Linked DNA regions of Homo sapiens: all the other regions are linked to region 2. Evidence: promoter capture Hi-C in human tissues and cell types (Jung and others, 2019). All regions are on one chromosome and are shown on one strand. Each heading gives the region's core, a stretch centred on a gene start or on the middle of the fragment in contact. The rest is flanking DNA. Distances are from core to core; before and after follow the strand shown. Region 1 overlaps LOC105370340 (a long non-coding RNA gene). Region 2 holds the start of TPP2 (tripeptidyl peptidase 2). Region 3 overlaps NALCN-AS1 (NALCN antisense RNA 1).

Evidence for each region. Contacts are between HindIII fragments. The study calls those that stand out against the background at their distance.
Region 1: a contact is called between a fragment that was not itself captured here and the fragment with the promoter of TPP2 in region 2, in 1 of the 25 tissues and cell types used here (mesenchymal stem cells).
Region 3: a fragment that was not itself captured here is called in contact with the fragment with the promoter of TPP2 in region 2 in 1 of the 25 tissues and cell types used here (mesenchymal stem cells).

Annotation. Positions count from the first base shown.
Region 1 is chr13:104,130,515-104,134,630 of GRCh38, forward strand. LOC105370340 (a long non-coding RNA gene) reads left to right here. Exons shown (of 3, transcript XR_931689.2): 2 at 538-639; 3 at 2,405-3,774. Among named protein-coding and RNA genes, the nearest start is that of LINC01309, 710 kb to the left of the region's middle. The HindIII fragment of the contact is 3,247 bases long and covers 1,067-4,116 here.
Region 2 is chr13:102,594,187-102,598,353 of GRCh38, forward strand. It overlaps TPP2 (tripeptidyl peptidase 2), which reads left to right and starts at 2,800. Exons shown (of 30, transcript NM_001330588.2): 1 at 2,800-3,017. The coding sequence starts at 2,853. LOC107984588 (a long non-coding RNA gene) reads right to left here and starts at 2,756. Exons shown (of 2, transcript XR_001749984.3): 1 at 2,262-2,756; 2 at 1-215. RefSeq lists enhancers at 2,234-2,393, 2,444-2,503 and silencers at 2,574-2,863, 3,024-3,313. The HindIII fragment of the contact is 8,618 bases long and covers 1-4,167 here.
Region 3 is chr13:100,824,190-100,828,405 of GRCh38, forward strand. All of the region lies in intron 2 of NALCN-AS1 (NALCN antisense RNA 1), which reads left to right. Among named protein-coding and RNA genes, the nearest start is that of NALCN-AS1, 120 kb to the left of the region's middle. The HindIII fragment of the contact is 3,897 bases long and covers 1-3,522 here.

The DNA of each region.
Region 1 (4,116 bases), core at 1,440-3,939, 1.5 Mb after region 2:
ATTTTAGAAAGCTTGCTGTATTCACAAAAAGGAATGCCATCATCCAATCAACAACAGAATTTGAGGAATTACCTCTGCATTACATGGCACTTGATGCTGTAAGAGGTATGCAATTTTAGATGTATTCATTTAATGTTTTATTAAAATAGTATATGATCAAGACTTTTCACAAACACAAAGTGAGAAGATTGAATTACCAACATAAACTTCCAGTATAAAAGCTGTATTGCCTAAAGTATTTGATGAAACACACCATTCAGAAGTCCTCAGCTCACGAGAAGATTTCCATACTTCAGAAGTCCAGTGATTACAGTGTGTTCTTATGAAAGAGTTTATCTTTCTTTCTTAAAAATCAGATTTGATTATGTTGATAACGTTGGTTTGCTTTTCTTTTATTGTGGCAGTAATACTATTGCAAATATTTAAACACGCATAGCATCTGCAAAATCCACATTATGTTGTCCATAGAATTGAACCCCTGCTCTTTAACAGTTTTATAGGAATAGAAAGCTAAATACTTTCTTGTTTTTAATATAGACGATGAAAATTTTTTGGATAGCATTGAAGAGTTCAAAAGGTCGTATGAAGTGTTTTGCCTGAAGCTTCAGTGAAGTAAAATTGGTTTCTTCTGAGAATAAGGTACAAATATGTTTGTATGATATGATTTTTACAAATCATTGTCTCATAATATTCTATTTTATTTTTACAACAGGGATATGTGGGGGTTGACTCCATGGTTTGACTTAGATTTTAAAATAATGACTATTATTGTAAATAAATTTTGAATTCTAAGGGGACAAAGGAGAAACCAGAAAATCCATTAAAACTTCAATAGAGTTAATGAAATATTATCTTTGCAAACAGGGTAAGCAGAGGAGACCAAAAGTTGGTAGTTCAAGAGAAATGTTGGGGTTATATTTTTTAACTATTAGGATACATTATATTGGCAGATAGGGCAATGAAATACCCAAAGATTACTTCCAGATTGCTACCTTAAGCAACTCATCGTCTAGTTCACTTCTCCATGTTCTCTTTCTGCACCAACACTATACTACTCTTTGATTCACCGAAAGGGACATGTTATTCCACACAGTGAAGGGTCTGTGAGAGACCGAGTCAGCATGAAGAGGAGTGTTCAGGGACCTGTGTGGGACATCATGCCTTGGCTTTCTCCCTATAACCCCATGTAGAGATTTATTATTAAATATTAGAGAAAATGGGTGCATAAATCTACATTTCATTCGATTAGAGAATGTGTATGTCAAGGAAGAAGACCCATTCCCTATTTACCGTCATAGAGGAAGTAAAATAAGAGAGAATTTTATAGAGATAAAAATATAGAAAGACATAGAAAACTCAGAAAGTAATACATTTAACAAGATGTATATGCAAATCTGATTAAAATATTGATAAACCAGAGATAGATTATTCATTTTAAAACTGACAGTAAAAGTTCTTTAGTAGCTTGATTCGATTGCATTTGAAATATAATTCTGTTTTAAATAATTGATTGAGACTAATATTCAGAAGCTTATTTTGTATGTACTGCAAGCAATGTTAGTGAGAGCTCATGAAAACTCAGAGCTATATTCCTTGTTTAATTTGTTTGCTGGTGGAAATACCATGCCTTGGATTAAGTTTTCAAATTACTATAAAAGCTAAGTTTTCAAGTGAATGCAAAGAATGTGAAAATTGGTAGTTCCACACAGCTCTAACTGTCACGCCTTTCTATGAGTGAAAGAACGAGAAGCAGATTCTCCCTATTTGATTATCTATGCATTTATCATCTGTCTTGTCTGCATTTTTCCTCTGAGCAACCTACAGAGGACTGTACAGATAAAAGGTTTTCCATTATATGTAATTTGAAGTAGAACAAATGATATGCAATCATATGCAACGTGAGAAAAATTATGACCATCTCCTCTCCACAGAGACTCACATTTAGCCTCAATTTACTCCCAGAAAGCCTGGGACAGACATCCTTGGTAGTATTCTGAGGGTCAGCAGGTTGGAGAAAGGGAGCTTTCCTACTATGTCAATAGGAACGTGTCAGTCCTCTGCTGGCTTGCATATGTTTTATCCCCACACACTATAGACTTAAGTGGAAAGGAAGACAAAGCACCAACAAAGCACGCAAAGGCTCTGGTCATTTCCCCGTTGTATTGTCTCCCTGCTTTATACCTGAATTTCTAGACATTTTCTGATTTCCATTTACACAGAAATACAAGTGGATATAAAATATTAGCCATTCCCAGGAAGCCAGATGCTTTAGACAAGTTGGGTCTATAAGGAAGAAAGACACACTCAAGTTATAAGAAAAACATGGTGGTGCATTTAGTGTGAAGAGACAGCTTCATCTATGCCCTGGCTCTTGAGAAACTTACTTTTTCTTTTTGCTTTTCAGGTTGTTTAGGCCACCATCCCTGGAACAAATATTATCCCTTCCTGCAATTCCATTGTCTGCCGGTGTTACCGGCAGAGCTACTTTGAGTGCTGGGCAGGAGCTGAAGCCACGATGGGCAGGGGGTTCATTCTGGGGAGTGGCTGGGAGGGGAGATTCTTAGACCTCTGAGCCTGCAGCTCTGAGCTCTGAGTTGAAGCTCTGCTCTCCAAAGCAAGGGTGGCTCAGAAGCGCTTTGGGGTCATCTGTCTTCGCCAGCCTCACCTCACTCTTATTCTCTGAGGATGTTTAGGAAGAAATGAAAATTATGTGGCTTAGTCTCAGCATAGCAAGAACTGTGGGGAAGATCATTAACTTTCTAACCTGATTTCTTCTGTGACTTCAGAGGCTTCCTTAACCTCCAGTTAGAAATTTTTATCAGGCATATTTGATTATTATGTATCAAGTATCTGCCTTGTGCCATTCGCTGTTTGAGGCAGTTAGAAACAGTGATGGGCATGTCAGATGAAACCCTGCTCTGACGGACCTAAAATCCTAGTGAGTGATAATTAATATTTATACTTTATCTTTTCACTTAGTGATTAATGTTCAAAAGAAAAGCACTCATATCAGAATGAGGTACTTATTCTTCAAAAATTATGATAGATTCTCTTTGTATTTTAAAAATATTTTGGTGGTATATAATAGAGTCAGTTTCTTCAACAGAGCTACAAGCTTGATCCCCTTGTTGGGAAATATATGTTACAAGGGCAACATTAGAAACCCCCATGATCCAGTCACCTCCCACCAGGTCCTTCCCCCAACGTTAGGGATTACAACTCAACATGAGATTTGGGTGGGACACGGAGCCAAACCATATCAGTTGTTAACTCAGCTCTCGTGTGCTATATCCTTTCCTTCGTGGGATCCCATTAAAAACATTAAATGAAGAAACATAACAGCCAAGGGAAAGATGGAAGGACCCTTCCACGGAAAAAAAAAATGGAACAAATAGCTTGAAGGAAAATGAGAAGGAAAACCTGTTGAAGGATGACACCGATCTGGAAGAGGATGCCCAGAGTGTAAAGAAGGAGATGGGGATGGGCAACAGGGCTCCAGAGGGCTACCAGGCTGTGCGTTCACAGGTCGGAGGAGCAGAAAATGCGTCCATCGCAACAAGAAGGGGGACTACTGTGAGTGGAAAGCTTGCTCATGGAGAGGGAGACATTCACTCCTCTCACTGTCCCCTATCCCTGCTGTCCCAAGGAGAGAGCACCCCAGTTATGTGATTGAGTGTAGTATTTTTTAAATGTCAGTACTGGTTTGATTTTTAACTAAGTAAAAATGGAAAATTAAACAAAAAGTACAGGGTATCTGTCAACTTCCCAGAACATATCTTTCGGGTCTTGTGTAAAGAAATTGATGTAATCTGCTTTTCTGAGAATACTACATTTTAATTGTTAATTATGATTTAATTAAATTAAAATTTAATTTAATTTTAATAGTTGCTCATGAAGTGAGGAAGAATTTTTGTTATTCAATTTTTTTTTCATTTTTATTTATTTATTTTTTTTGAGACAATGTGTCACTCTTGTTGCCCAGGCTGGAGTGCAATGGCGTGATCTCTGCTCTCTGCAACCTCTGCCTCCCGGGCTCAAGCAATTCTCCTCCCTCAGCCTTCTGAGTAGGTGGAATTACAGGCACCTGCCACCACGCCTAATTTTTTGTATTTTTAG
Region 2 (4,167 bases), core at 1,550-4,049:
GTATATTTACATGAGAAACGTGAAAGTTTCATTAAATAATGACGATATTTATACTATGCCAGAAATTACATCCTTTATAATTTTTAAAATTTATGATAGGCCGGGCGCAGTGATTCACGCTTGTAATGCCAGCACTTTGGGGGGCCGAGGCGGGTGGATCACCTGAGGTCGGGAGTTCGAGACCAGTCTGACATCAACATGGAGAAACCCCGTATCTATTTAAAAAAATACAAACATTAGCTGGGTGTGGTGGCACATGCCTGTAATCCCAGCTACTTGGGAGGCTGAGGCAGGAGAATCACTTGAACCCCGGGAGGTGGAGGTTGCAGTGAGCCGAGATCCCGCCATTGCACTCCAGCCTGGGCAAGAAGAGCAAAACTCCATCTCAAAAAAAAAAAAAAAAATTGTGACAAATTTAGACTTCATTTTACAGCTGTACAAAGGGATACATAACTTTTTTAAAAACATGTTTATGGGATATGTAAGCAAAAAAAGAAAAATCTGGCCGGGTGCAGTGGCTGATGCCTGTAATCTGAGCACCTTGGGAGGCCGAGGTGGGTGGATCCCCTAAGGTCAGGAGTTCAAGACCAGCCTGGCCAACATGGCGAAACCCCGTCTCTACTAAAAATACAAAAACTAGCCAGGTGTGGTGGCATGCACCTGTAATCCCAGCTACTCGGGAGGCTGAGGCAGGAGAACTGCTTGAACCCGGGAGGCGGAGGTTACAGTTACCCGAGATTGTGACATTGCACTCCAGCCTGGGCCACAGAGTGAGACTCTGTGTCAAAAAAGAAAAAGAAAAGGAAAGGAAAAGAAAAATCTAAAGAACATTGTTACGGCAGTCTAATAAAAAGTCTGCCACCTAGGTTTCATAATAAACTGTTCATTCCCCATTTATTCATTGGGTGATACTCTGGCAAAGTCATGCACATGGTGTGGTAGAACATACTGGGGAGAGATTGTGAGAAGACAAATCCCGTGTTTTCATCAACCTGTTTTGTAATCCATGACAGTCAGTTAACTTTGTTTCTTCATCTATAAAATGAAGTGATTGGACTATGGTTCACTTGAAACTGGGAGCCATTCTGTTCTATCACTATAAGCTCTATACTGAATGTCTTCTGCGAGTTTGTTATTCTGTTTTCGTCTGTGTTAATTTGAAATTCTTTTCTAGAGGTAATGTAAACAGTTGGGAATAAGAAGAAAAACATTCAACTTTTCTTTTTCCTCTGCACTAAAGAGAACATGCTTGTGTAAGACTTATGGACTGAATAAATGATCAAGGAATCAGCTGAAACCATTGCACAGCCATAAGAATAATTTTTGAGACTTAATGGAGGATCTCTGAAATTCTGTGGGTTGGAAACCGCATGCATAAGGCTTTCCTTTATACCAGGTATTCTTAACTTGGTGTCCATAGACAGAATCCAAGGGGTTCAAAAACTTCCGTAGAAAAAAGATACAAACCTCTTAATTTTTTTCACATCAAGTATGAATGTAGGCAAAAACCAGGGTAGTTATGCTGTTATGTCACCAATAAAAATCAGTTCATCGTAGTGCAGTTTTCACCGCTATCTCCAAATAATTATATTCTTCACTATTTTGAAGTTATGGTAGTTTATTAGCCTTGGCCCTAGCTCCTGTTATTTAATGCAAAAGAAGTACACCTGTAACTATACACACACACGTAAAGCTCCTGCTATATAACAAAATTGCCTTTAGTATTTTTGATAACTGCATTTAAACATAATTTATTTCCTGGGTAATCCTATCTATTTCATTGTATGCATTTTAAAACACTGCTTGAGAAATAGGCCTCACCAGATTGCCAAAGGGGTCTTCGGCACAATAAAAGGCTAAGATTACCCTGGCATGAGCATAGACATAAAGATCATTAGAGGACCACTATGCAGCTTGCAGCAACTGACGGCAGGCACTGTGAATCTGGAAAACTGAAAATTATGGCTCTATAATTGAGTGGACAGCCGTAAGGAGCAATCAGAAACTTCAGTGTAAGAGGAAAAAAAAAGATGTTTTTCAGAAATCCCGGAAGCTAAGGATCAGCAGAGGATAGGAGGGGCCCATTTCAGTCTCGTGCTTTGTTACTGGCTACAAAGGCGACGGAATGACCAACAACCCACTTCCTGTTGACTGAAACTATTGCCTGTCTCCACCCTATTGCTCCCCCTCACCACCTCACCCCCATCAAAGGGGCATAACAACACAGGGGAACCCAAAGTCTACACCCCTTAACCTACGACCTTCCAAAATCATGTCCGGAGCTTTCGCCGACACCGCAGACTCCTTAGCGGCTAAGCGTGAGTGCGCCGGCTCCCTTGCCTCGGGTCAGCAGCACCCCGGGGCTGGGGCTCCTGCAGCAGCCGCACCAAAAAGTTTCATCCACAACCTTAAGTTTGGAAACTATCGTTTGCCAAGCGAAGGGTTCCCATTATTCCTGGCTGGCGGTCCATCTCCTTGCCCGTCTCTCGGGGAGTGATTCGGTCCGGGACACCAGGACTCTGCTTGGAGGCCTGCTGTTGCCTAAAAACCCCAAGCGCGGGCCTCTTCAAGGCCCCAGGTTCGAGATCCGAACCCTCCAGTAATGTCCTCAGACTCCTCCCCCTTCACTGCAGCCCGGGCAATACTCGGGCCTAGCTCCTGAGAGCGGCGCCGTTGGCTTACGTAGCAGCACGTGATTGGCCACCGCTCCCTGGCAGGCCGGGATTGGTGGAAGACGGGCCGACCCCGCCCCTCGCCCCCGCCTCCGGCCCGAGGCCGCACGGGTGTCCTCGCGCTGCTAGTCCGCGCGCAGCCTGGCAGTTTGCCGCTTCCTCGTCCTCCATCCTGCGTCCATGGCCACCGCTGCGACTGAGGAGCCCTTCCCTTTTCACGGTCTCCTGCCGAAGAAGGAGACCGGAGCCGCCTCCTTCCTCTGCCGCTACCCGGAGTATGATGGGCGGGGGGTGCTCATCGCAGTCCTGGACACGGGGGTCGACCCGGGGGCTCCGGGCATGCAGGTGAGGCGGCCCCCGAGGGCCCGGGCGCGGGGGCGCGGGCGGCCGGGGACGCGGGTGGGGACACAGTCTCGGAGCCCGGCAGGCCAAAGCCCCGCTCTGCGGCCGAGTCCGGGCCGGGGTGGGCAGCACCGGGGTGGGCAGAGGTCAGAGCCAGGCGCGGGAGGGACGGGCGCCCGCCAAGGGGACTCAACGGCGCACAGTGCCAGGGTCGCTGGGCGGGCGAGGGCCCGGACCCCAGGTTGGGCCGTGGTCCCCCCAGCTCAACAAAAGCAGCGTGCCCGGCGCGGCTGCCTGGGGAAGCCTGGGTCCCCCTTTGGCCCCAGGGACTCCCCTTCCTTCTCGCTTCGGCGCTGCCAGGCCGGACCCCCCAGGCTCCTTCCCTCCACGCCGCCTTCCTCTGCCTACCCCTCGTGCCTCGGACACCGGTCCCAGCCTGACGTTTTTAAAGAGAATTTTACAGCTTTTATCATTGGGGTGGGGTGGAGACACCAGATAGGCAACTGACATGTGAGAACTTAATGTTTAGGGATCGGGAGATTTGGTTTGGGGAAGAATAGTTTGTCTTTAAGCACGAAAGCTGGGTTTCCAGAAGATAACCCAGTCCTCTTCCGGAATTGTTTCCTGTGGTAGTTTTGTGTATTCTATTTTTAAACGGTCTTCTGCAGCGTGTTTGCTTAGGGTCATTGAATCTTGTGGCTTAGTCTTCGTTTACATAAGGAGAATTCAGTTAGGTTTGGTTTTGGCGAGCTTCTCAGACCTTATGAAAATATGCGACTTTTTTTTTTTTAAACCTGAAAACATACGACGGTTTTTAAAAATTACTTAGTTTTTTGCCTTAGGCAACTTTAAAATCTGTAGATTCAAGGTATCATACCAGAAGGTAGTTTTTTTGAAAGTATGTTGTCTCTCGTTAAAAGCATTCTGTTTAAAGTCTTTAAAGTTTAACTTTTGTACTTTTAACCCTTTACTGAAATCCAGTAATAAAATTTCACCGTTATTCAAGATCCATCTCCCAGCATCCCTGACTAATCCTACTGTATGCTGATCTCTCGTTGATCAGCCCCTGGCTATCTTATCCTCCTTTCTACACTAAACACTCATCCTCCTCCCCACAATGTCCCTTCCCTTCTGGATCCTTTATCGTGCTTTC
Region 3 (4,216 bases), core at 324-2,823, 1.8 Mb before region 2:
TTTTTGTATGGGAAAGGGTCATCATGCAAAGGGTTAATGCAATACTGTGTGATGGAGACCTGAATTAGATGTTATGTACAGGTTGAGGGAATTCTTGGATTGGAAATAGAATGATAAGGAGAGAAAGAAAGAGTGTATGCAAACACGTAGAAATATGAATGCAGATGCAGAGTCTGAGGAATTCTAAGTTGTTCAGTTTTCCAGGGCTGGATTGGAAAGCAGCAGAGACAAAGGTGGGGAGACCACTGGGGCTGACATCCTAGAAAGCCTTGTGCATCATCCCAGGGAGTTTGGACTTTGGTCCTCAAGGCAGCAGGATGTCATTGAAATCCTGTATACAGCAAAGTCACATGATCAGATCCGTTGATTTTATCAAGCTCCCTCTGGGTCTTCTTTGAACCTCTCAAATTGGCACAGATGAAGGAAGACGAATATGCTTCATGTTGGGAAAGAGTGCACCGATGTGGAAATTCTCACAGAATGGTAGCAGAAAAATAAAGTGAAAAATGCTTGCTGGAAAGAAATTTGGCAATGTGTGTTAAGAGACTTGAAAGGGTTTATTCTTTTAACTCAATAGTTCTGTTGCTGCAGATATATTTTAGGAAAACGATCTTAAATAAAAAGAATATTCCAGGGCAAAGTTATTGTTTGGGCAACTACTTTTTATTAATAAGCCACTAGAAACAATCTAAAATGTCCAACAATGAAGTAATAGTTAAGAATACAATGCACTCATAAGTTTATAATGAAGCTGGTGAAAAGTTTTAAATACAGTAATGTCCAGCAATTGCACAATGTTTTTGCTACCCAAGATCCATTTACACTTATCCTGGTGAAAGAGCTGTGCTTTCTGTCTGGATCCAGGATTGGAACATGATGTCCTGGTTAAGCCATCTACCCTGCTCTCAGGGACTGGTTCAGGGGGGATCGTGCAACCTGAGCCAATTTAATCATAATGAATCTCAATAATTATTCTGGAAAGGCTGGGACAAGGATGCACCCATTTTCCTGCTGGATGTGGACAAGTTCGTGGTAATTTGTGATATTGACAACAGAAACCTCATATAAATAGAAATGTTAAAGTGGTATTTAACCAGACCCTGGGAAGAGCAACACTTGATTATTGCCAAAGAACATTTTGGGAAATGTGAAGAGACAGCTGCCCCCTTCACATTATTTATCTTTGGAAGGAATGTCAACTCAGCACCTGATTTATGAATTGAATGAGTAAGTAGAAAAAAGATTATTTATTTTGGAAAATCCTCTTCCTATCCCGAATAATACCTGTGCTATGTAATGTACAACAATGAGATGCTGGAGCAAAATATTAAGAAAGTCCCCAAAGATTCAGAGTTAATCCTCCTGCCACACTCCAGAGTAATCTTTGTTAACTGAAATGGAAAAAGTCATTTTCCCTCTAGACTTGCTGAACTTCTGTGATCAAAGCTCCAGGATTGTAGAATATGAAATTTAGGCAGCAAAAAGCGACTCAGAGTATGAATTTGCTGATTTGACTCATGTGACTTCAAGCCAAGTCTCTTAAAGTTACTTCTAAAAGTGCAGGCTGATTTCCAAACCTGAGTCACTTTAGGCTTCCAGTAAGATGAAGATCAGACAGATCTGACACAATATGGAAATGAATGTGGTAGAACAATTTTTATCCTGGGTGTGCATTTTAGCCTGTATTTGTCTCGGGAATATTTCAAGATGCCTTTGGCTTTTTGGGGGTATTAGGGTTGTAAGTGACCAGCATTCCTCGAGGTCAATGCTATTCTCTGCAAAACACAATAAAAGCTTGCAGGAGGCCGAGGGCTGTATGAGAAAATTAAGTATTGATTGAGGAGTAGATATGATGTTGTGAAATGTAGTTATTAGACTCAATTCAGTGCTGTTAATTTGAGGTCTTGCACTTTCTCAGAAGATTACACCAGTTAACAATACATTATTGAAGTCTGAGGAGTACTCTTACCCCGCCTCATGCTCTCTGCATCCTTTCTCTCAGCTTTGGAAGACTGCTTTGCCCAATCGATATGCTTTTATTGAACACAGGTTTATACAACCAGTCAGCTCAAATATGATCACTTTCAGGAGTTTGCGACGCGTGGCAAAGTCAAATTTCCTTCCAAATAATCTTCTATCAAGAAATCAGAAATCCTGAATTTAATCATCCCCCTTTTCACGTCCCATGAATTATAATAGGACCTCGGAAATGAAGAAGAAAATAAATTCATTCTTTCGCTTTCAGTGGTCCTCTCTGCCCTGCTGCTTCCAGTGGAGTTGAAATAAACAAGATCCCTGAACATGGGAAGGGATCAGAGGTATCTGTAACTAAGAACAACAGATGGAAAAAAAAAAAGTCCTTTATAAAATCTTAGAACTGGAAAGGGCATTAGAAACACCTAGTCCAGTTCTTTCACTTTCTAGATGACTCAATTCATATCTAAAGTGGCTGTGATGCGCTCAGACTTCATAGCTAGTCAGTGGCAGAGCTGGGAAAGTAATTCAGGTGTCCTGACTTCGGTTATTTTCACTATGTATTCTGCCTGCACAACTGCCTCGACTGTGTACAGGGCAAGAATCTGAGTGAACAGTCTCTTTAAGAACAATTGCATTTATAAAAAATTAAATTTACATTAGATAATTTTCTTCCAACCCTTAAATGTCAAACAAAGCTAATATGCAGACTTCTAAGAACCTTGCGCATGGTTTTACAGCATTTTTTTCTAACTTTGTTTTGTAGAGAGGAAAGTTTTTAATTATCTTCACTTTACTGATGACAAAATTAAGACCCAGAAAATCCAAATGGCTTATTTTAAGTGGTATAGCCATTTTGGATAGACAGGTAGATACTCAAACCTAGGTCCTTGTACTCTTAGTTCCGTGTTCCCTTTAATGTTCTCTGCAGCTTCCGTTGCTTACTCTAAAATTTGTCTTCTGGCTGGTGTGTTGGCCACAACTGTAACTCCAGTGCTCAATCTGGAGATCGAGGCAGGAGAATTGCTTGAGGGCATGAGCTTAAGACCAGCCTATGCAACATAGTGAGACCCCGTCTCTACAAAATACAGGTTTTTAAAAATTTGCTGTTTGGTGGTATGTGTTTGTAGTCCCAACTACTCTGGAGACTGTGGAGGGAGGATCACTTGAGCCCAGGAGGCCAAGGCTGCAGTGAGCTATGATGGCACCACTGCACTGCAGCCTGGGCGACAGGTTGTTTCTAAAATTTTTTTTTAAAAATTGTCTTCCTGTAAGACTGAAGCACTTAACACTTCTCTAGTTTTGCTACTCCTTTCCCTAAGCCGTATGCCCTGGAATGGGGCAAATGTTTGCTTAATATTTTAGCCTGTATTCTTAACACCCAAGCTTAAAATCAAAGAGGGAACTCTAATAGTATTTCTGGCTTCTCTGGGCATGGCAAATATTGTGTTAATCACTTTACTTGGTGTTTGCAATCTGTTTCATTGTCGCTAATATGAACATGACATACAATATATGAGTCATTTATTAATCTTGCTAAATTCACATTTGGCAATATTCTTTCCAGCCTGTGCAAGTGAGCACGTACAGCCTCACTTGTGATCAGAACCATGATACCCTAGAAACTGTTTCTTCCTCTGCTGTCTTCTGTGACCAGCTCTTTATTCTCCAACTAAAATCACTCGGTTGACAAGAGCTTCCCGTGTTAAGCTTCCTTCCGAAGTGATTGCAGTTTATCTTTTCCAATCAAAATGGGAACAATTTGTGCTTTCTTATGATTCCAGAGCTGCTATAAATCGGGGTAATAGATTTTTCAGTGCCTAGTAAGATAATTGTGCTGGGGAGAAGATTAAAGTGCATGCTGGGAGCCGTGAATGCTGTGTGCCTCCATCCTCCTGTTCTTGTTGCTTCCAGGACGACCTAGAAAACAAGGCTGGAGAAAGACAGCTTTAAATTCCTCATGCTAAATTAGTTCTGAGATGCTTCTGGGCAAAGACTGCCAACTGAACTCTGTTTTGACAGTAGAAATATTTATAATGAAACATAATGAAGTAAAATTTAAGTCCCAAATTACCCCAACACAGAAGCACTAAAATTGCAATTCTGGTTATAGTGACACCTCCAATTACCAAAATGCGAAATAATTCTCTTTAGAAAATGACTTCATTTTGAGGAAATGAATCCTAGCTAAGGATCATGACACACACACCAGGGGCTTCAAATCCTGTGTTACTGCTGACCC